Regions from separate parts of the Homo sapiens genome. Here all the other regions are linked to region 5. Evidence: promoter capture Hi-C in 16 types of primary human blood cells and fetal thymus (Javierre and others, 2016). All regions are on one chromosome and are shown on one strand. The core of a region is centred on a gene start or on the middle of the fragment in contact, and the rest is flanking DNA. Distances in the headings are between cores, read along the strand shown.

Evidence for each region. Contacts are between HindIII fragments. The CHiCAGO score rates a contact against its expected background, and 5 or more counts as called.
Region 1: a fragment that was not itself captured here is called in contact with the fragment with the promoter of SUCO in region 5 in 1 of 17 cell types (monocytes); the score reaches 5.3 in monocytes.
Region 2: a fragment that was not itself captured here is called in contact with the fragment with the promoter of SUCO in region 5 in 1 of 17 cell types (neutrophils); the score reaches 6.1 in neutrophils.
Region 3: a fragment that was not itself captured here is called in contact with the fragment with the promoter of SUCO in region 5 in 2 of 17 cell types (total B cells and total CD4 T cells); the score reaches 6.7 in total B cells.
Region 4: a contact is called between a fragment that was not itself captured here and the fragment with the promoter of SUCO in region 5, in 2 of 17 cell types (fetal thymus and total CD8 T cells). The highest score is 6.9, in fetal thymus.
Region 6: a fragment that was not itself captured here is called in contact with the fragment with the promoter of SUCO in region 5 in 1 of 17 cell types (neutrophils); the score reaches 5.6 in neutrophils.

The regions. Positions count from the first base shown.
Region 1 is chr1:173,998,086-174,001,289 of GRCh38, forward strand. All of the region lies in intron 1 of RC3H1 (ring finger and CCCH-type domains 1), which reads right to left. Among named protein-coding and RNA genes, the nearest start is that of RC3H1, 23 kb to the right of the region's middle. The HindIII fragment of the contact is 4,144 bases long and covers 1-3,204 here.
Region 2 is chr1:171,476,552-171,480,053 of GRCh38, forward strand. No RefSeq gene overlaps it. Among named protein-coding and RNA genes, the nearest start is that of PRRC2C, 7.2 kb to the right of the region's middle. The HindIII fragment of the contact is 3,263 bases long and covers 312-3,502 here.
Region 3 is chr1:174,016,893-174,019,988 of GRCh38, forward strand. The region is part of intron 1 of RC3H1 (ring finger and CCCH-type domains 1); the gene reads right to left. Among named protein-coding and RNA genes, the nearest start is that of RC3H1, 3.9 kb to the right of the region's middle. The HindIII fragment of the contact is 2,618 bases long and covers 21-2,638 here.
Region 4 is chr1:174,162,109-174,165,540 of GRCh38, forward strand. The region is part of intron 1 of RABGAP1L (RAB GTPase activating protein 1 like); the gene reads left to right. Among named protein-coding and RNA genes, the nearest start is that of RABGAP1L, 4.3 kb to the left of the region's middle. The HindIII fragment of the contact is 151 bases long and covers 1,634-1,784 here.
Region 5 is chr1:172,531,424-172,534,991 of GRCh38, forward strand. SUCO (SUN domain containing ossification factor) reads left to right here and starts at 1,727. Exons shown (of 24, transcript NM_014283.5): 1 at 1,727-2,074. The coding sequence starts at 2,013. RefSeq lists enhancers at 926-1,035, 1,096-1,345, 1,956-2,115 and a silencer at 1,666-1,835. The HindIII fragment of the contact is 4,223 bases long and covers 1-2,840 here.
Region 6 is chr1:171,495,304-171,498,732 of GRCh38, forward strand. All of the region lies in intron 1 of PRRC2C (proline rich coiled-coil 2C), which reads left to right. Among named protein-coding and RNA genes, the nearest start is that of PRRC2C, 11 kb to the left of the region's middle. The HindIII fragment of the contact is 4,223 bases long and covers 1-3,429 here.

The DNA of each region.
Region 1 (3,204 bases), core at 695-3,194, 1.5 Mb after region 5:
TACCAACATCCAGATTTTTTGAACTTCCTCAGAAAAAGGTATGTCAGCAAACTAAAAAAGGGCCACAAAACAAAAACAGCTGTAAATAATTCTACTAATCAAAGCACATGCATTCAAGGCCTGCAGATAAACTGTTGGGGGTCAGGCCAAATCTAGTTCATTAGGAGTATTTCTATTGGAACCTTCCAATTGAAACAGAAGACAAATGATGAGCCCTCTTTATTTCCAAAAAGATTCAAAAGAGTGACACTGCTGCTCAAGTATGAAAGCAATGATTAGTTTCCCCACCAGTTTAAATAAGGACACCTCTCCTACAAAAATGACGAGATTTTACTGTTGATAATTGCTAATACAGAATATACATGATAATTAAATAGCAATCAGTTCAAGGGTCTGACCTAAGACCCAAGTTCAAAAATACCATATAATTTCCCCAATTATATATACACATTTTTACACCACTAAAGAGTGCTCACAGAAAACACTGAAAAGACTGCTTTATTCAGTTATATGCCTTGTTCATGGCATTGACTGAAGCTACAGTACAGAATATCACATCTGACATTTCACTATTAATTTATCCCAATGTCTAAATTCTGGTTAAGAACCACCACTTTCTTAAATCTCTAAACTTTTATCACTAATATTACCATTTGACTTTACTCAGGTTTTTTTTCTTAACAAAGAAATAAAGATCTTATTATCAAAATAAAAAAATTATTTCAGCTAGGTGCTGTGGTTCACGCCTGCAATCTCAGCACTTTTGGGTGGCTGAGGTGGGAGGATCACTTGAGACCAGGAGTTTGAGATCAACCTGGCCAAAAAGGCAAGACCTTGTCTCTATAAGCAAAATAAAAAATGAGCAGAGTGTGGTGGCACGTACTTGTAGTCCCAGCTACTCAGGAGGCTGAGGTGGGAGGTATGCTTGATCCCAGGAGTTCAAGGTTTCAGTGAGCTATGACCACACCACTGCACTGCAGCCTGGGCAACACAGAGAAACCCCATCTCTAAAAAAAAAAACTGTTGGGCGTGGTGGCTCACACCTGTAATCCCAGGACTTTGGGAGGCTGAGGTTGGCAGATCACCTGAGGTCAGGAGTTTGAGACCAGCTTGACCAACATAGAGAAACCCTGTCTCTACTAAAAATACAAAAATTAGCAGGCACATGCCTGTAATCCCAGCTACTCGCGAGGCCAAGGCAGGAGAATCACTTGAACCTGGGAGGCAGAGGTTGCGGTGAGCCGAGATCGTGCCATTGCACTCCAGCCTGGGCAATGAGAGCAAAACTCCACCAAAAAAAAAAAAAAGAGAGAGAGAGAAAGAAAGATATGAATTATAAACAACAAGGCTACTTGCTTGGGTCCACCAGCTAAGTAACTAGTTTGTAGATACCAAACTCCAAGTCTTACAGCTCCCTTAGCTGTTAAATTCAAATGTATGCCTCTGCAAAATAACAAATAACTACATATTGTGAGCATCGATGTTTAAGTATGATTAAAACATTGTCAATGAGCAACTACAGACAAAATTGTGATGACATGATGCATCTGGAAAGACGTAGAACAGCTTTGTTTTCTGAAAATCAATCATGTGTCAGTCACTGTGCTAGGTGTTTTCAGATGTTTCTCTTATTTAAATATCCACAATGTGGACTACCACCAATAACCAACATTTGTGAAGCAAAAACTAGGATATTATACTTTCAGTGCTCTATATACAGTATCTAATTAATGTTCACAGTAACACTGTAATGTAGTTATTATGCCCATTTTAAAGATAAGGAAACCAAAGTACCCAAGTCACAAAGCTAGAAAGTGGCACGACTAAGACTCAAACTCAGGACAGCCAAACTCCCAGGCTGGTACTTTGAAACTCTATAATTTGTGCCACCACACGAATAAAAGTTTATAGTAATTATGGCAAGGGAGCTCTTGGGAGTGACAGAAATGCCTTAAAATTGTATGGTAGTAATGGTTGCACAACTCTGTAAATTTACTAAAAATCATTTGTGTATTTAAAATAAGTGAATTCTATGGTATGTAAATTATACTTCAATAAAGCTGTTAAAATAGTCATTAAGGGCTTTTTAATAGTCTTAGTTTTCAAAAATGTTAAGTAATAATGTAGAAACATAGAAACTATTCGAATCTGTTCTATGAGCACAGCAATAGCCCTATTAAATAGCTAAATTACATTGCTGTGAAGATTTCATTTAAACATATGACACATTTATTACCATCTCCTTTATTATAGGTTCATTTTATATGTTCCTGATTTAGAGAGAGAAAAATGGAAATTAAAATTCAACTATCTACTCTGAGCCAGGCACTCCTCTGAGGCATTACTATGCCCATTTTACAGAAGATAACTTGAGGTTTGGCGGCATTAAGTAACGGCCCCAAATCAATAAACTGTTGAGCTGGGATTAACACCAGGTCTTACATATCTGAAATATAAGTTGGCCTGTGAAAAATGTTTTTATCAAACAAAACCACACTGTCTGTAAGAAGAAAATCTTGGCTCTCTTCCCACTATGCCCGATGAGATGAGATTTTAACTCATTATTCTTGACCTTAACTTAATTTTTCATTTCTCTGGAACATTTCCATAGCAACCAGCATGTAGGGCCACATCAGAGAAGAGAAAATGTTTCACTGCCTTGAAAAATGAAGCTAGAAGCAGGAGATAAAAACACAAAGAAGAAAACTAATGAAGGCCTATTATAACACTTAATTTTTTAATCCTCAGCAGAGCATCAACTAATTTACAGTGGAAATAGAGTCTAAAATTTGAGGCTCAAGGTTTTTCCAGCAATAATATCTTGTGAACAAAGACCCAGTTTTGATTGTAAAAATACATCTTCCCAAAATGTATGGACTGAATTGTAACCCTATATATACAAAATCCTGGATGTAAATAATTTAATATGATTATGTTAGTACAAATGGATAAATACTTGGGACAGGCATAAAGAGAAGGGCTTCTGAGTTAGAGGGAAAAAATAGCTTGAAAAATAGAACTTGATAAAGAAAGGTGGAGGAAAGTTCAAGGGGTTAATTCAGGTTGCTTACTTTTTCAGCGTTCAGAGGCAAAAAGAAAAATTTCTATCTCCAACCTAATACCAGATTGAGGAGAAGTAGTAAGAAAGGACAAAATCATTCATGGAGAAGCCGCCTGACCTGAGTTTGAAACAGAGTGCCTGAG
Region 2 (3,502 bases), core at 693-3,192, 1.1 Mb before region 5:
AGCCTCTGCACTCTAGCCTGGGTGGCAAAATAAATACATTCTGCATTTAATGGTCACAAATGGGTTTTAGAATGCTTGCCTTCTGAAATCACACCATTGCAAGAGTAACTCCCTAGTTTCTTAAGAGAATAATGATGGAGTTTCTGTGGAAGTAAAAACAATCTGAGGAAACAATCCAGCCCTGCCTACTTCTCTCAACCCCTACTGCAGGATTCAAGCCTCCTCTCACTACTCCTTGGATTATCATTACAGCCCCTGAAACAGCTGCTCTTGTGCCAGGCAAACCATTCTTCACATTTCAGCTAAAGAAAAGCTTCAGACATTAACCATTTACAGCTCCAGCAGCTAGCACAATCACTGGTACATAGTTTATACTCAATTAATACTTGTTGAAAGAAAAAGTCACTAAGGAATAAAATATATTAAGCTGTCTTTCCTATGTGATATCATAAAACTTACACATTTTATCTAGATTACGTAATATCCCAGTTTAAATCTAATCATTGGCTCCTATTGCCCTCAGTCATACAAAGTCAGTTTACATGACTTTTTGCAATCTGGTCTCTGATCATCTCTGAAGTTTTGCTTTTTTGCCCCTTTTTTCACCTTTCTCCCCCCTCCACCTCTTCCCTTTTACTTTATGAACAACAGAGCTATCAAGATGCTTTTTAAAATCCTCAAACATGCCATGCTCCATTTGGCTTTTGGGATCTTTCCATACGCTGGTCTCTCTGCCTGAAACATTCTTCACCCTTCACTATATGCAAGTTAACTGCCTCCCTTTCCCCAAAACTTGCCCCATCACTTCCTGTCATATCTGCACACACACACATACAGACACACACCCTCACTCATAACATATATTCACATGAGTATCTAATTCCTATAAACTGTTGGGGCTTAATTCTGGGCAGAAATGTAGTTATAAGCATTAATCAGGCTGCGCTATGACCCACTTCCTTGTAAGTGAAAGTCGCATAACAGTAGATACTGACCATTTGCGTCTTGATTTTCCCTATAGATAGGATTTCTAACATTAAAATCATTAGGCTTTTAAGAACCGCTTAAAGTCGGGCACGGCTGCTCATGCCTGTAATCCCAGCACTTTGGGAGGCTAAGGTGGGCAGATCACCTAAGTTCAGGAGTTCAAGACTAGCCTGGCCAACATGGTGAAACCCTGTCTCTGCTAAAAATACGAAAATTAGCCAGGTGTGGTGGTGGGCATCTGTAATCCCAGCTACTTGGGAGGCAGAGGCACAAGAATCACTTGAACCCAGGAGGCAGAGGTTGCAGTGAGCTGGGATCTCACCATTACACTCCAGCCTGGGTGACAAGAGCGAGACTCTGTCTCAAAAAACAAACAAAAAAAAACTGCTTAAACAGATCCTGAATTCCAGACAGAACAGCTGACACCAACTAGTTTAAAGATCTCCACAGAGCAGCCTAGTCAGCATGAGAATATGGTTTCTTCATCTCCTGCCCCATGACTTTACTCTGCACTCTTCAACCAATCAACTATCTCTACACTTCTGCCCACTCTGAAACCCTTAAAAACCCAAGCCCTAAACTCCTCATGGCCCAATGATTAAATCTTTCTCTGCTGCAACCCTGCATATTGACTTGCAATAGATCTATTATGGCTACATTCCCTGACCCCCACCATCCCTGCAAATGTGGGTTAGGTGCCTTCCTTTGGACTCACAAGGCACTTTTAATTCTCTCATCAGAGAATTTATCACCTGTGATGGTTATTTTTCTGTGTCAACTTGGCTGGGCTACTATGTCAATATTTGGTCAAACATTATCCTGAATGTTTCTATAAAAGAGGTGTTTTTTGTTTGTTTGTTTATTTGTTTTTTGAGACAGAGTCTCGCTTTGTTGCCCAGGGTAGAGTGTGGTGGCCCAATCTCGGCTCACTGCAACCACCACCTCCCAGGTTCGATCAATTCTCCTGCGTCAGCCTCCCAAGTAGGTGGGATTACAGGCATGCGCCATCACACCTGGCTAAGTTTTGTATTTTTAGTAGAGCTGAGGTTTCACCATGTTGGCCAGTGTGGTCTCAAACTCCTAACCTCAAGTGATCCACCTGCCTTGGCCTTCCAAAGTGCTGGGATTACAGGCATGAGCTGCTTCATCCGGCCTATAAAAGTGTTTTTGTTTTGTGGGAGGGGGTGGGGGGGTGATTATATTAACTGTAAATGGATGTATTTTGACCTTCATAATGTGAGTGGGCCTCATACAATCAAGTGAAGGCCTAATGGAAAAAAGACTGATCTCCCCCAAAGGAATTCTTAAGTGTGGCAGCCTTTTGACTTAAACTACAACTTTGTCTCTTCCCTGGGTCTCCAGCCTGTTGGTCTACGTATCCTATTGGTTCTGTTTCTCTGAAGGACCCTGACTAATATGTCACTTTTAATCATAATTACTTATAATTTCACCCCACTCTCATCCCACTTGAATAGAATCTCCTGAGAACAGGAATTTAAACTGTTTTATTCATTTTTATGTCTTCCTTAGCCTGATATATCATGACTTTTTTTTTTTTTTTTTTTTTTTTTTTTGACAGAGTTTTGCTCTGTTTTCCAGGCTGGAAAGCAGTGGCAAGATCATAGCTCACTGCAGCCTCAAACGCCTGGGGTCAAGAGATCCTCCAGCCTCAGCCTCTCAAGTAGCTGAGATTATAGGCACACACCTGGCTAATACATAGGTAATATGGAATATTGTTCTTTTGTTTTTTATGGAATATTGAAATGAAGAGTTTCATTTCACTGCAATTCCCCAAGGCTGCTAAATACTTTGAGATGCTTTCTCTCAATTCTCTTTCAATCACTATTCCCCTTTCTCTCTTCTATCAAGACCATGCCCTATGAAGTTAACAATGGTCCAACCTCTAGAGAATTGCACTAATTCCCATTTGAAGCAATTATTCACTAAGACTCTCAGCAGCTCATAGAAATATTTCTGAAACAATCATTTAATTAACCCCAGCAGAAAAAAGAATAGAGAAGAGCCTGTAGTCCCAGCTACTCTGGAGGCTGAGGCAGGAGAATGGCGTGAACCCAGGAGGTGGAGCTTGCAGTGAGCCGAGATTGCGCCACTGCACTCCAGTCTGGGTGACAGAGCGAGGGTCCATCTCAAAAAAAAAAAAAAATAGAGAAGAGAAAGAGAAACAAACCAAAAAACCAAACTAGGTACAAGCTACTGGTGGCATTGTAACATATGAAATTCTCTCTTCCACCACAAGCCTAAAAATTATTCAAAATACCTAGTCCCAATGGTAACCAAAAAAAGTACTATCAATCTTACTTCTCTTAATTACTATGAAGCAATAAAATATTTGACATCAGATAGTTTTATTTATACATATACCCAATTGGTTGGGCAGCAGATACATAAAAAGTCTCGTATACTTTAAGAAATGCTACAAGCGACAGCCAGAGTTACAATTTTAATTTATTGGGCACTGTATTCATATTCATTAGTAATATCTCACGGATCTGCT
Region 3 (3,096 bases), core at 80-2,579, 1.5 Mb after region 5:
CAATTAAAACAATCCAAAAAAGCTTACTAAACAACTGCCTTTGTAACACTGTTCATGTTTTTAGAGGTGATCAGGTATAGGGCCAAGATCAAGGTTTCTAACACTTATTCAACAAGGGATTAAAAGCAGAGTGCCACGCAAATCAAAACTCTAAATATTCTCAAAGATTAGCTGAATAAAATAGTCATAAAGTTAGATTCACAGGGATCAAAGAGCTTCAAATTCTAAAAATCGTTTCCCAGTGTAACTTCAAATAAATCCTTTGTGAATATTCCTAGTTTCTTCTATACATTAAGAAAACCTAAAAGGCAAACAAGTTCTAGATAGGAGACCAAGTATTAGTTGTTCACATTTGTATAGAACATTAAATTTTAGTTCTTATAACCCAATGAAGAAATACAAATGAGTCTAAGAGTTTGAGCAAAACCCTCTGGGGTGATCAAAACAAAACTGCAAACTTCTATGAGTCTCAACTTTTCTTCCATAAAGAGTCCCTGGCAGCATGTCTACTGTACTTAGAGAAGCATGCAAAGAATTAGGTGGTTTTTTATTCCTAACAATCACATCCCAAAGTTTTTTCTGCAATTTCAATTGTACAGAGTACTCTTCCTCGATGTTGGCTCAAATTAGAGACAGAAAGCAGAATGGCGTTTGCTAGGGATTAGGGAAGAGGGGAATACAGAGTAACTGCTTAATGGGTACAGTGTTTCCTTTTGGGGTAATGAACACATTCTGGAATTAGAGCTGGTGGTTGAACAACATTGTGAATGTATAAAGTGCCACCTAAACTGTTTACTTTAAAATGGTTAATGTTATGTGACTTAACCTCAATAAAAAAAATTATGTTAATCTGTAGATAAAACTGACCCCTTTAGAACTCTTTTCTTGCTCAAAAAAAAAAAAAAAAAAAAAAAAAAACTGCTACCATGTTCAAATGCTATTTAGATCTTGGAAATTTTTTAGATAAAATGCACTTATAAGTTAAATTATTACCACATGTGCACAGTAATAATCAGTGAAGGTATACCAGTGTCAGTTTAAAACATTGTTATGCCTGTAATCTCAGCACTTTGGGAGGCAGAAGTGGGAGGATCACCTTGCTCCCAGGAGTTTGAGACCACCCTGGGCAACACAGCAAAATGCTATCTCTATAAAAATAATAAAAATTAAAAAAAGTAGCCAGGTAAGGCGGGAATAACACTTAAACCAAGGAGTTTGAGGCTGAAGTGAGCTATGATAATGCCACTGCACTCCAGCCTGGGTGACAGACCATGAGTGACTCTGTCATTCATTCATAATATATACATACAGCATTGCTAAAATGCTTGATAACTGTCAAAAGAATATTGCTCTGACATACATCTGCAAATAAGTAAGGTGACTTTAAATTTGAGGAAAATTCTTTCCCCAAGCCTCAATCAGGAAAACAATATAAACTAATAAGAAGTATCTAATAAACAAAAAGTAAACAAGAATATTATATAAGTAAACAGGCACAATCCTGACCAAAAATGGACAGAAATAAATATGCTAAAGTTAAGTGTCTGGGGGATGTAGGGCAACATTACTTCAGATTGGTAAATGTCACACTTCAAAAATAGAAGGAATCTACCTTAAGAAACTCTGTAGTAAGAAAACCTCCTTTGTATAAATGCCTGACAAAATTAATCTTTTATCATAACCTCTAAAGCTAGTCCAAATCCAGCCTAGATTCCAGAATTACACAAAAGAAAAAATCTTGGAGACGGTTCTGGGAAAAGGCTGACCAAAATCTGTGACTGTTTTGATACAGGCCAATCTGAGAATTTTAATCCCTCTGAACCCAATCCTGCAGAATACCTGAACCCTGAGCACAGACGGGGCCAAAGCTAAACCAGGTCAGAATACCCTGCCAAGGAACATCCTGATCTGAGGTGTTCACCAAACAGGGATCATTTATCAGTTTATTCTTCACTTTGTTGGATGCTGACCATTTTCAAGATATATGCAAGAGTGGACTGATTAGACCCATCAGAATCCATTTCAAGCCCTAAGATCTGGAGATGAAAAATACTGCAGAATTCTAAATTATCTATGGCTTAAAGAAAAAAAATTATAAATTAAGAACTTCAAATATTAGCTGACCCAACTTTAACATCATTGAATATCTTTAATTATTTAAAAAAATTTATAAAGTATTTCAAAGGCACAATTTAGTAATTGCCTATGTAACAAATTAACCATGAAAACAATTACAGCAGTATGATAAATCTGTCCTATGTAAACAGTATGAGTTTTTATATTTTATAGCATTCAGATATGCTAAAAACAAAAATTTAAGTGTTTCTTTTGTGATTCACATGAACAAATACTTTCTTGGTCTTACAAGTAGATATCTGACAGGATACAAATAATGATAATAGGGTAAGTTCACAGGCAAAAAAAGGAATCTGTCAACACAGAAGATGCTTCAAAGTTTAACTGTGACACATGTGGTAGTGGCAAAGAATCTAATTTGTGTCACAAGATCTGAGTCTGAGTAAGCTCTTTTACCTATTAATTATGTGATCTTTTTGCTGGTTACATAGCTACTCTTAGCTTCACATTCTTCATATGAAAAAATGAGGACAACAGAACTAATACTGCAGCATAATGAGGAAGCTTAAATATTTTTATTCATTCAACAAATATGTTCTGAAAGGCGTTGTGTACAAATTACCCTTTTTTATTTCTTCAAATAAATCAAGCATATATTAACTTTTAATATTACCAAGAAAATATAAATCTAATTCTTAAGCTCTGGTTCCAAAACTTCTTAGAAGTAAATTTTTATTACCTGAGAAAATGTGAACTTAAGTAATAAGTATTGATACTGAAGAAGGGACAGTTGAGTTTGTGTCAAAACTTAAAACTGTTTTGACACAAAATAAATAAAAACAATTCCCTAAATTTTTTTCCTATTGAACAGAAATACGGACCCAGACTAAGCCCATAAATTGCTGGGTCAATAACCAATCTGAAATACAAAACCTTACCACTTAAAAATATTTATTTTCAGGAAAATGATATTAAATATGAGGTAAATCTGCCCTTGACATAACACGGTGAGATTGTTTT
Region 4 (3,432 bases), core at 459-2,958, 1.6 Mb after region 5:
TGTTTCTTTGATAATTGTTTCATGATTTAGATGTTTTCTTTTTACGCTGGTAGTTATGATTTTTTTTTCCTTTGAATGAAAGAATTTTATTAGGCATGTGAAACAGGAGTTTTCATGTGATCAGCTCTCCAGTTCTAAATTTGTGACTTTTAAAAAACTTGAATTTTTTTCTTTGCCTTAACCCAAACTTGAATTTGCTCAGCCATTGTATATTTATTTGAACTCTCAGATGATACAGCATTGAAGCAGAAAGTCCTTTTATCCATGCTTTTGGAGTAATCAAAAGAAGGAATTCTGTTGTGCCAAGTAAAAATATGTGTGGGAGATAGCTAGGCTTCAAGAGATTGACTTTGAAGAGAGTAGTGGCTAAGTAGCAAAAATTTCCTATATTGAAGGTGTAGAAGTGGGCCTGCATTCCAACCTACCATTGTCTTCAAGTGGGGTATGGATCATTATGACTGGTTAGAGGGGGTTTGGAGAATGAAGTTGTTGCTGTAAGCCTATGGGATTCCCAGGCACAGAGCTTGCTTATGTCTTAATTTTAATGAGTTCTATATTTTTATAACTCTTGACTTATATAAATGGGTCAGCCGTTGAGTCTGAGGATGACCAGCAGCCCAAGGCTATTCCAGGTGCTGGTATTTCTTTTTTTTTTTTTTTCTCTTTCTGTTTTTTTTTTTTTTTTTTTTTTTTTTAATTATACTTTAAGTTTTAGGGTACATGTGCACATTGTGCAGGTTAGTTACATATGTATACATGTGCCATGCTGGGAATTGAACAATGAGATCACATGGACACAGGAAGGGGAATATCACACTCTGGGGACTGTGGTGGGGAGGGGGGAGGGGGGAGGGATAGCATTGGGAGATATACCTAATGCTAGATGATGAGTTAGTGGGTGCAGCGCACCAGGTGCTGGTATTTCAAAGATGGCTCAGGGGTTTCTTGTGGAGATGATCTGATGAGCATTTTGCCATTACAAACAGTGGAGGCGGAGAAAGTACGGACTTGAGCCTGAGTTATGGTAAAACATACTCATTTTTAAAGGAGAGTTTTAATGCTGATATTATAGAGAAAGACATTGTTTGACTCCTAGACTTTCAGAACGGGAAATAATTTTGACTTTATAGTCAGTATTTGAATTGGGTATAAGTATGTGAACATCAGTGGACCCTAATAAGGAAGAGTTAATGAATTAAGAAGAGCTTGCATCTCTGAACATCTTCTTTTTATACTTCGTTTACTTCCCATATTGCTCTTATTCAACAGATGGGATGGCATAATTGGGTATACGAAGTTTATGCGCATGCTAACTCTTTTTTGTTATCTTTTGGTGTTTTTTGGTGTACTTTTTGGGGATTTTCCTGGGAAAGTTCTAGGCATATATTCAGTTGATTTAGAGTTAGATTTGGGCTAAGATTATTAGTATACTTGAAATTCTGAGCCTTCTTATTTTCTAAATAGCTTTTAAAGTAGAAAACATTTGCCAGTGCTGTTGGGCTTAAAAAAAAAAAAAACCCAACAACAACACAATTCTTTATAAATACTCATGAAAAATCTGGTTACAGGCTGTGTTGTGATAGACATAGTACAGCCAAAAATATATTTAAGAAAATTCTCACCCAGTTTAGTAAGCTTAAATAAGAGGAAAATAAGACAGTTTTTTTTTTTAATAAAAGGCTGATTTTCCCAGAATATGAAGCCTAACAACTGTTTGCTGTGTTATTTTCCCTGTTGCCTGTTCTAAATTCAGCAAGAACTATGCATCCCTAGTCCATGGTAAAAGCTTAGTTCCAGTAGGTGATTCTTAGTAATGGAAGTCTCATTGAGGGATGCAAGGGAATTTGATTGGGAAACATCAGGCATGGAACATTTACTTTTTACTGCTCTAATTTTCTGTGTATCTGGGTATTCAGTGGGGTGGGAACATGAGCACAAATACTAGAATTATCTGGATTTTTTTTTTATACTATGGATTTCCTCCTCTTACCCCCTACCTGCCCCCCAACCCATTGCTAAGTGAGCCATTGATAGTAGGAGTGTGTTATATCCTTCAGGTATGTAGGGCTGAACAAATGCTAAAAACCTTGGCACTTGGCTGATATTCCATAAACCAAATTCCTGCTCTGTGTAATTTGCCTTCTGGTGATATCAGTTTGTTACTCCCATTTTTGAAGAAAAATATGAATTGTGGTGAAGAGACATCTGTAACCAAGAGTAAGATTTATCAAATTATGTAGTATACATGAAGGACACCAGGAGATTGTTTACCTGAACATTTATTAAACTCATTTGACTGTGACCCACAATAAAAAATACATTTTACTACTTGATTCCGCAAGCGCACACACACACAAAGTTGAAAGTTTGGTGAAATAATATTTATCTTTTCAGGGCCCTACTGAGTTAGCTATAATGGCTTGCAAGACCAGTTGTGCATATTTCTTCCTATCTAGCTCTTTGTCCAGTGACATCATGTTGGTAGCTCAAAATTGGTCATGGTGGGAATATTTACACCAGGAAATTCAGCAAATGGTATTCTTAGGGCTTCCCTCCTCATAGGTAGTTGTTAAACATTTATAGCACCCCACTGCTTATAACACACATTGATATATTCTGTTATTTCATTTCATTTTAAAAATGCTGGGTTTTGACTTCCAAATTAATTTTACACCCAGCTAATGGATTATAGCCTACATTTAACAACAAATACAACTAGTTTAGCCTACCCTCTTAACTTTGTAAGTGAAGGAACATACTAAGAGCCTCAAGGCCAAGGTCAGATAGTGAGTTATTAGCAAAGCCAGGGCTCTGGACTCAATCTGGAGTTGTTTCTGGTGGGCTTCTTTCCTAACCTCACTTAGTGTGTATAAGGGATTGTGTTAATCAGTTTGAATAAAGATGGACCTTGACCCTGAGGACTTTATGCTTAGGTGGGGGATTAAATATGGAAACAACAGTGATAATGAAAGGCAGAAAGTAATGGGTGGTAAAAAGATAAAGATAAGGAACTATAAGAGTTTAGAGAGGAGGGAGAGATTACTTTTATTTTTGTTTGTTTGTTTGTTTTTCGTTTTTGACCCAGGCTGGAGTACAGTGGTACAATCTCGGCTCACTGCAACCTCTGCCTCCCAGGTTCAAGTGATTCTCCTGCGTCAGCCTCCCTGAGTAGCTGGGATTACAGGCGCCAACTGCCACACCAGGCTAATTTTTGTATTTTTAGTACAGACGGGGTTTCGCCATGTTGGCCCGGCTGGTTTTGAACTTCTGACCTCAGGTGATCCATCCGCCTCAGCCTCCCAAAGTGCTGGGATTACAGGCGTGAGCCACCGTGCCCGGTCTACTTTTAGTTTTAAGGATAAAAGAAGAGGTGACATTTGAACTACTTTTTTTTTTTTTTTTAATTTGGAGACAGCATCTCACTCCCGTTAC
Region 5 (3,568 bases), core at 477-2,976:
ATCATTGCAGGGACTTGGTGGAAAATAAGTGGATGGGTTTGTGAGTTTGGGATGAGAGGGTTAGGAGATGTAACTTGATAACTTCCTAGATTTGAGATAAGCACGTATTCTAATATAACTTCTTTGGCTGTGATGCACTGAGGATCAGCTGAGGGATACCTCAGCTGTTTCCTATCCTGAATAAAAGTTCCTGGAGTAAGAGGAAAAGAGTGTCCAACATGGTAAAGAATGTCAATTTATCCCTACCCTTTCATTGCCCCTACTTTCTTTTAAACTTGCATATTAATCATTTGATACTGTTTTTGGGTGAGATAAATACTTGCTTCCCGCAATAGGTGACAGATGAAAGGATTTTATTGTCATATACTAAGAGTGGCATCAGCAGATAAGTGGAACTGTACCTAATTACTGCCAGAAAAGGCAGTTCAGGGTGAACTCCTTTAAAACAAAAATTATCACCCTTTGTATAATTTCTCTAACATCAAATTGACTTATATCCAAGAATCACAGAGCGGATCAAATCATTCAGTTCTTTGGGACTATAATTAACATCCAATTCAACTTAGAAGGTTCATAAGGAAATTCCGCGGCTCAAAATTAGGCGTTAGGTGGGCATTTTACTGAGGGTTTTTTCCCTACGGCCACATGAACAATAAGTAACCCGTCCTTTAAACATTTTTCACACTAAACATTATGCCATGTTCCAAGGCACAGACCATTGCAGCCTCCGTCCCCTCAGCGGCGTAAACACTTGGAATGGGCATGCTGCCCCGTTACTTAGTATTGAGAAGTGGTCACTTTTTGCTCTTCTTAGGTGAGTGTAAGCGACTGCCTTCCCCACTTTAGGTGAACCCCAGGACTTGGAGCGTCTGTGGGTGCTCCTCTAATGGGGACAACTCCTCCCTTCCGACTCCATCGCAGAGAACCCAAAGTTCGAAACCAACAGAACGAAAAGCAACGAAGCACACTTAAAGTGAGGAACCCGGCAAGCGGCGAAATTCTTGCTGAAGAGAAGAAAAAGCGAAAGGTTTTCCGCTGCAACCAATCAGATGAGAGGATTCTTGGCACGCCCCTTTCTATCTACCAATCAACATCTAGCTCAATGGGGCAGTCCATTGCCACAGGGAAAGGGCTTGGTGCAGCTTCCCTCACAACACACACGTCATTCTAGGCCATTCCACGAACTGTGCTCAAAAGAGGAAAACAGTGCAACAGTTCCAAAGCTGATCAGTCTCGTGGTGAGCAGCGAAACTATAGACTTCTCTAACAAAACCATGGATTCTAGGAGGGACTGGGAAAGAGAAAAACGAATTCTGGAAGGCAAACTACAACTCCCAAAGGCCCTTGCGCGGACTCAGCGCGCGAGGGACGAAGGGCGGTCCACTGTAAGGGGAAATGCTGAGGATCACTGGGCTCCTCCCGGCTTTCTGAACGCAAGCCAGCAAGTGGGCGGGACCTGGGGCGGGCGGAGCGGCGAGAGCATCTGCTCCTGCGCTTTGTGGTCTCCTGCCTCCGGCTTCTCCGCCTGCGACGTCGAAGGGGGCGTGGCCTGCGCAGAGGCTGGTGGGGGTGCGGGCGCCGCGGGACTTGGGTGACGCGTCCCTTTCCAGCTCAGCGGTGTGTGAGGTGTCGCGGCCCCGCCGGCGATTGGCTGTTGAGAGGCGAGTACGCGGCGGCCGTTGGTCGCTGGCCTCACGGAGCAAGGCCCCCGGCGGGCGGGGAGGATATGGGGCGGCAGTGGCGGCTGCAGGAGGCGGGCGTGGACGAGCCGGTGGCTGCAGCGGCGGCGGTCCCCGGAGTCCTGTGAAGCGCCCCTGTCCGCGCCTCTGTGGGGCCCTCAGAGAGGGCTGCCAGGACGCGAGCCACTGAGGAGCCGCTCAGCCAGCGCCATAGCCCTTAGGACTATCGGTCACATTCTCGCGCTCCTGCTCCGGCTCCTCCATCTTGGCCTCGGCAGTGGCGGCTGCCGGGAGGATGTGCCGCCTTCTGGCAGGGGGAAGAAGGAGGAGAAGATGAAGAAGCACCGGCGGGCCTTGGCCCTGGTCTCCTGCCTCTTTCTGTGCTCTCTGGTCTGGTGAGTAGCCGCGACGACAAGGGAGTTCCCGTGAGGGGAGTAAATGGGAGGGAGCAGCCCAGGTCACACCCCCTGGTCATTTTGGCTTTTAGGGTCCGGGTTTCCAAGGCCCCCGTGGAAGGGACAAACCGATTACTTCTCGACTCTCCATCTGACTGGTCTGGTAGTGCTCTGTGCGGAGATTTTCATGGTGTATTTTGGAATTTACAGAGACTCAGTGGGAGAGAGAGAGGTGCCAAGGTAGAGGGAACCACCAAGTGCCTTTGTACTCAGTTCCTCTACCCCTTGGAGACGGTGCAGGGTTTGGGGTGGGTGTTCAGATTGATGGTAAGTAAGTTGCTCCGATTTGCCGCCAGTCTTTGCGTTCTTAGTGTGGTAAGGGGATAAAGCACGTCGGATGTGATGCGTTCCGGACGTGCGATTTTAAAACGTGAGTGGTCATGAAGGTAAGAGTAATGTATAAGCAGTAGTTCTCCTGGACATTTCTCGCACAGCGTTTGATCCCAAGTACACTCGGGCCGCTGTTTTTGGAAACTTGGGGGGCGTGTGTGTATGTGTGTTATGAAGCACTTTTTCAATTGGTTTGGTGGAGAGGGTGTCTTAGATGTAGTGTGTGTAGTAGTTTTTGGTAATGCCCCTTAGTGACGGGAAGGTAAATGCTGTATTTTCAAGGCGGGAAGAGTGCTTTGTCCCTAAAGCACTCCTTAAGTTTTACGGAGTTTCTGTTAATCCCAGGCACTTCTGGAGTTTTTTGAGGAGCAGAGAAAGCTTGTAAGTCGAGGGACTGCTGTCACCGTACTTGGAAAAGCCATTCTTTCCTCCCAGGGAATTTCTTCAAAGATGTGTGACAATTGATGACTGAAAAGATGCTTCTTCAGTCTAGGCGATTTGCTGTTTGTTATATTAAAATAGAAATTAAGTTTCCTGTTTTGCTTATTTCTGCAAAGCACCAACACTATTTTCATTTTTATGGATGCCTTATGGATTCCAGAAGCACTGAAATTGTAGAGTTGTTGCTCACATAAAATAATACATAAACAAGGGGAAGAGAAAACACTCGCCTGGCTGAGGGATTTTTATTGGAAGAATGATAGAAGTTTTTGAGAACAAAAACAATTGACTTATTACCTTTCATTCTGAATCCTTTTAATACCCGTCTCCTGTTTTTAATAAAATCCTCCCCTTTCTACTTACTGTGTTGGGTACGGAGAAGTGCCTGTAAGAGATAAATCCACTCACCTCATTTTAAATTTAAATTTGTAGATACTGAAGCTTGTATTCATTTCCATCTCTTTCTGGGGCTGCCTAGTTATATTTGTAGACTGTGTATTTTCTTTCCTCTTTCTTCTTGGTCTTGCCCATCTTTAAACCATGTTATTCATCATCAAAAGTTTCTGAAATGGCTAATAAGGAAAAGGTGAACACTTTCATTCAAGTTTAAAAACACACCAGTATCTCTGGCTTTTTTTAATTTTTTAATTGGATGGTGTAAAC
Region 6 (3,429 bases), core at 451-2,950, 1.0 Mb before region 5:
CTGTTAATATGACTGTATAACTAATTGTTTAATTCTGCCTAGCATTCTAAGACCTTTAAAAATCTTGGTCATGGAATACATTGGTACTCCTTCAGATGTATATATTATTTCATATGCCATGTTTACTTTCCAAGTCTTTATTCAAGTTATTGACATGGAAAAGGACAGGGTCCAACATATCCAGGCCAAATTATTTCATATTGACCACATTCTTTTAAATATAAAATGATTTTCTACTTCAAACATTGTGTGATTCTCATTTGTATTAAGTTTATTTAAGGAGAAGTATGTAAATGACTAGTACTTTCAGTAGTCTTAAAAAATCAAGTGGATTGAGGGAAGGAAGTGACTAAATTTTTTTAAGGTTTATATTTTGTGGATGCTGATTCACTTGGAACTAGGAGTGTGGTGAATATTTGGGCTTTTTTATTTTAAATGGGCAATTTAGTTAAAATTTGAGTGATAAAATTCTGGTTTTTGAAGTTAATGCATCAGTCTCCCCTCATCATAGTTCAGGCTGCCATAACAAAATAGTATAGACTGGATGGCTTAAAAAACAGAAATTTATTTCTGACAGTTTTGGAGGCTGGAAGTCTGAGATCAGGGTGCCAGCATAGTAGTTCTGGTGAGGGCTCTTCCTAGCTTGCACACAGCCACCTTCTGACTGTATTCTCTAATGGAGAAGAGAGCAAGCTCTGGTATCTCTTTTTATAAGGACACTAATCCCCTCATGGCCCGTACAACCTCATCTAAATCTAATTACCTCACCAAGGCCCCATCTCCAAATATCAGCCCAGGGGATTTAGGGATTCAACATATGAATGTCAGGGGGGCACCCATCAGTCCATCAGCACCCCTGCCCCCTTTACGATTTTTAGAGCTTTGATTTTTGTGCCTTTTTTTTTTTTTTTTTTTTTTTTGCAGGGTCTCCCCCTGTTGCCCTGGCTGGAGTACAGTGGTGCTATCTTGGCTCACTACAGCCTCTGCCTCCCGGGTGCAAGCGATTCTCTTGCCTCAGCCTCCCTAGTAGCTGAGACTACAGGTGCACGCCACCACACCCAGCTAATTTTTGTATTTTTAGTAGAGATGGTATTTTGCCATGTTGGCCAGGCTGGTCTGGAAGTCCTGACCTCAAGTGATCCACCTGCCTTGGCCTCCCAGAGTGCTAGGATTACAGATGTGAGCCACTGCGCCTGGCCTGATTCTTGTTTTTTACAAGTTACAAAAATAATACAAAGAATTACCATATTCCTTCATTCAGATTCCCCACTTGTTAATATTTTACCATATTTACTTTATTATTTTCTGTATAGTATGCACATAGGCACACACATGCACTCTGTGCTTGGTTTTTAATGGCTGCTGTCTAAACCCTGTCATCACCAGAAACTTTAAATTTATTTCACAAGCTCTTATTCCTTACTTGTATTACAAAATGACATTTCTAGCAGCAAATCGATACATTTGGGGCGTGTGTGTGTGTGTGTGTGTGTGTGTGTGTGTGTGTGTTTTGTTTTGACAAGGTCTCACTCTGTTACCCAGGCTAGAGTGCAGTGGTGCAATCATTGGCTCACTGTAGCCTCAACCTCCCAGGCTCAAGCGATCCTCCTGCTTCAATCTCCTGGTTGGGACCACACGCATGTGCCACCACACCTGGCTATTTTTTTGGTAGAGACAAGGTCTCTCCATGTTGCTCAGGCTGGTCTCAAACTCCATTGCTCAAGCTATCCTCCCACCTCTGCCTCCCAGAGTGCTGGGATTACAAGCATGAGCCACCATGCCCCACCAATACATTTGTTAATAGAGATGTTGCTATGTTTTGTTGCTATTGTGTTTTATCTTTGATATCTTATTCTATATTGTAATGCAGTATGTTTGATAATGAAAACATGAATCATTTAGGGTCTCTTAAGTGACATTTATTGTTTTATATTTCAGTTTGTTAATTTCTCAAAATGAAAGTTCAATCCTGATTTTTTAAATAATGAGATTATGTTGGGCACTGGCTTTGAAGTCAGCCTGGATTTAATCTTGACTCTACCACTTTCCAGCTCTGTGTGTTTTGAGCAAATTACTTTACTTCTCTAAGATTGCTTCTTCATTGGTAATTTTCAGTGATTTAGGCTTTAAGCCCTTCTTAGTCCTAATCTGGTTTTTATTTTTATTTTTATTTATTTATTTTGAGACAGGGTCTTACTCTGTCTATTGCCGAGGCTGTAATACAGTGGCACAGTCATGGCTCACTGTAGCCTCAACCTCCTAGGCTCAAGCGATCCTTCTGTCTCAGTCTCCTGAGCATCTGGGAGACAGGCATGTGCCACCAGGCCTGGCTAAATTTTATTTTTTGTAGAGATGAGGTCTCACCATGTTACCCAGATTGGTCTTGAACTCCTGGGCTCAAGTGGTCCTCCCACCTTCGCCTTTCAAAGTGCTGGTATTACAGGTGTAAGCCACTGCGCGTGGCCCTAATCGGGTATTTTTACGTTATACTATATCTTTGGAGCTCAGATTTTGGTGGGGCAGTGGGGGGATACAAGGTCTCCTTTTGTCCCCCAGGCTGGAGTGCAGTGGCACAATCATGGCTCACTGTAGCCTCAACCTCCTAGGCTCCAGTGAGCCTCCCATCTTGGCCTGCCAAGTAGCTGGGACTACAGGCATGAGCCACCATACCCAGCTAATTTTTTTTTTTTTTTTTTTTTTTTAAGAAAAGACAAAGTCTTGCTGTGTTGCCCAGGCTGGTCTTGAACTCCTGAGCTCAAGCCATCCTTCCGCCTCGGCTTCCGAAATTCCTGGAATTACAGGCATGAGCCACTATGCCCTGCCAATAATTACTATTTTATTGCTAGAGCTTTTAGTCAACCTTAACTGAAATCACCAGTCCTTTCTGCTCTCCTCCTCATTCTCTTCTGACTTCCTCTCTTAGTCCATTCATGCTGCTGTAACAAAATGCCTGAGACTGGGTAACTTATAAATAACAGAAATTAATTTCTGTTGGTACTGAAGGCTGGAAAGTCCAAGATCAAGTTATCGACAGGCAGGATCTCCGCCTCCAAGATGGCACCTTGTTCATGTCCTCAGATGACAGAAGTGCATAGCTAGTTCCCTCCAGCCCTTTCATAAGGCACACATCACATCTGTGAGGGCAGAGCCCACATGGCCCAATCACCTCCTAAAGACCCCACCTCTTAAAAGTGTTGCATTGGGGGTTAAGTTTCAGCATGAAATTTGGAAGAAACATAGGCATTCAAACCATTTTCTTTCACTGTCTGGATTAGACTTCAGTAAAACATTACTCCAGAAATTCTGGCAGTATCTTCATCCACCTTGCTTTTCTTTACTAGTTTACTGATTACTGGTGCAACTCTAATCTCTGATTCAGTCCATCTGCTTTTGTGCTTCCTACCACTCCCAACTCCCTGGATGTCCTAC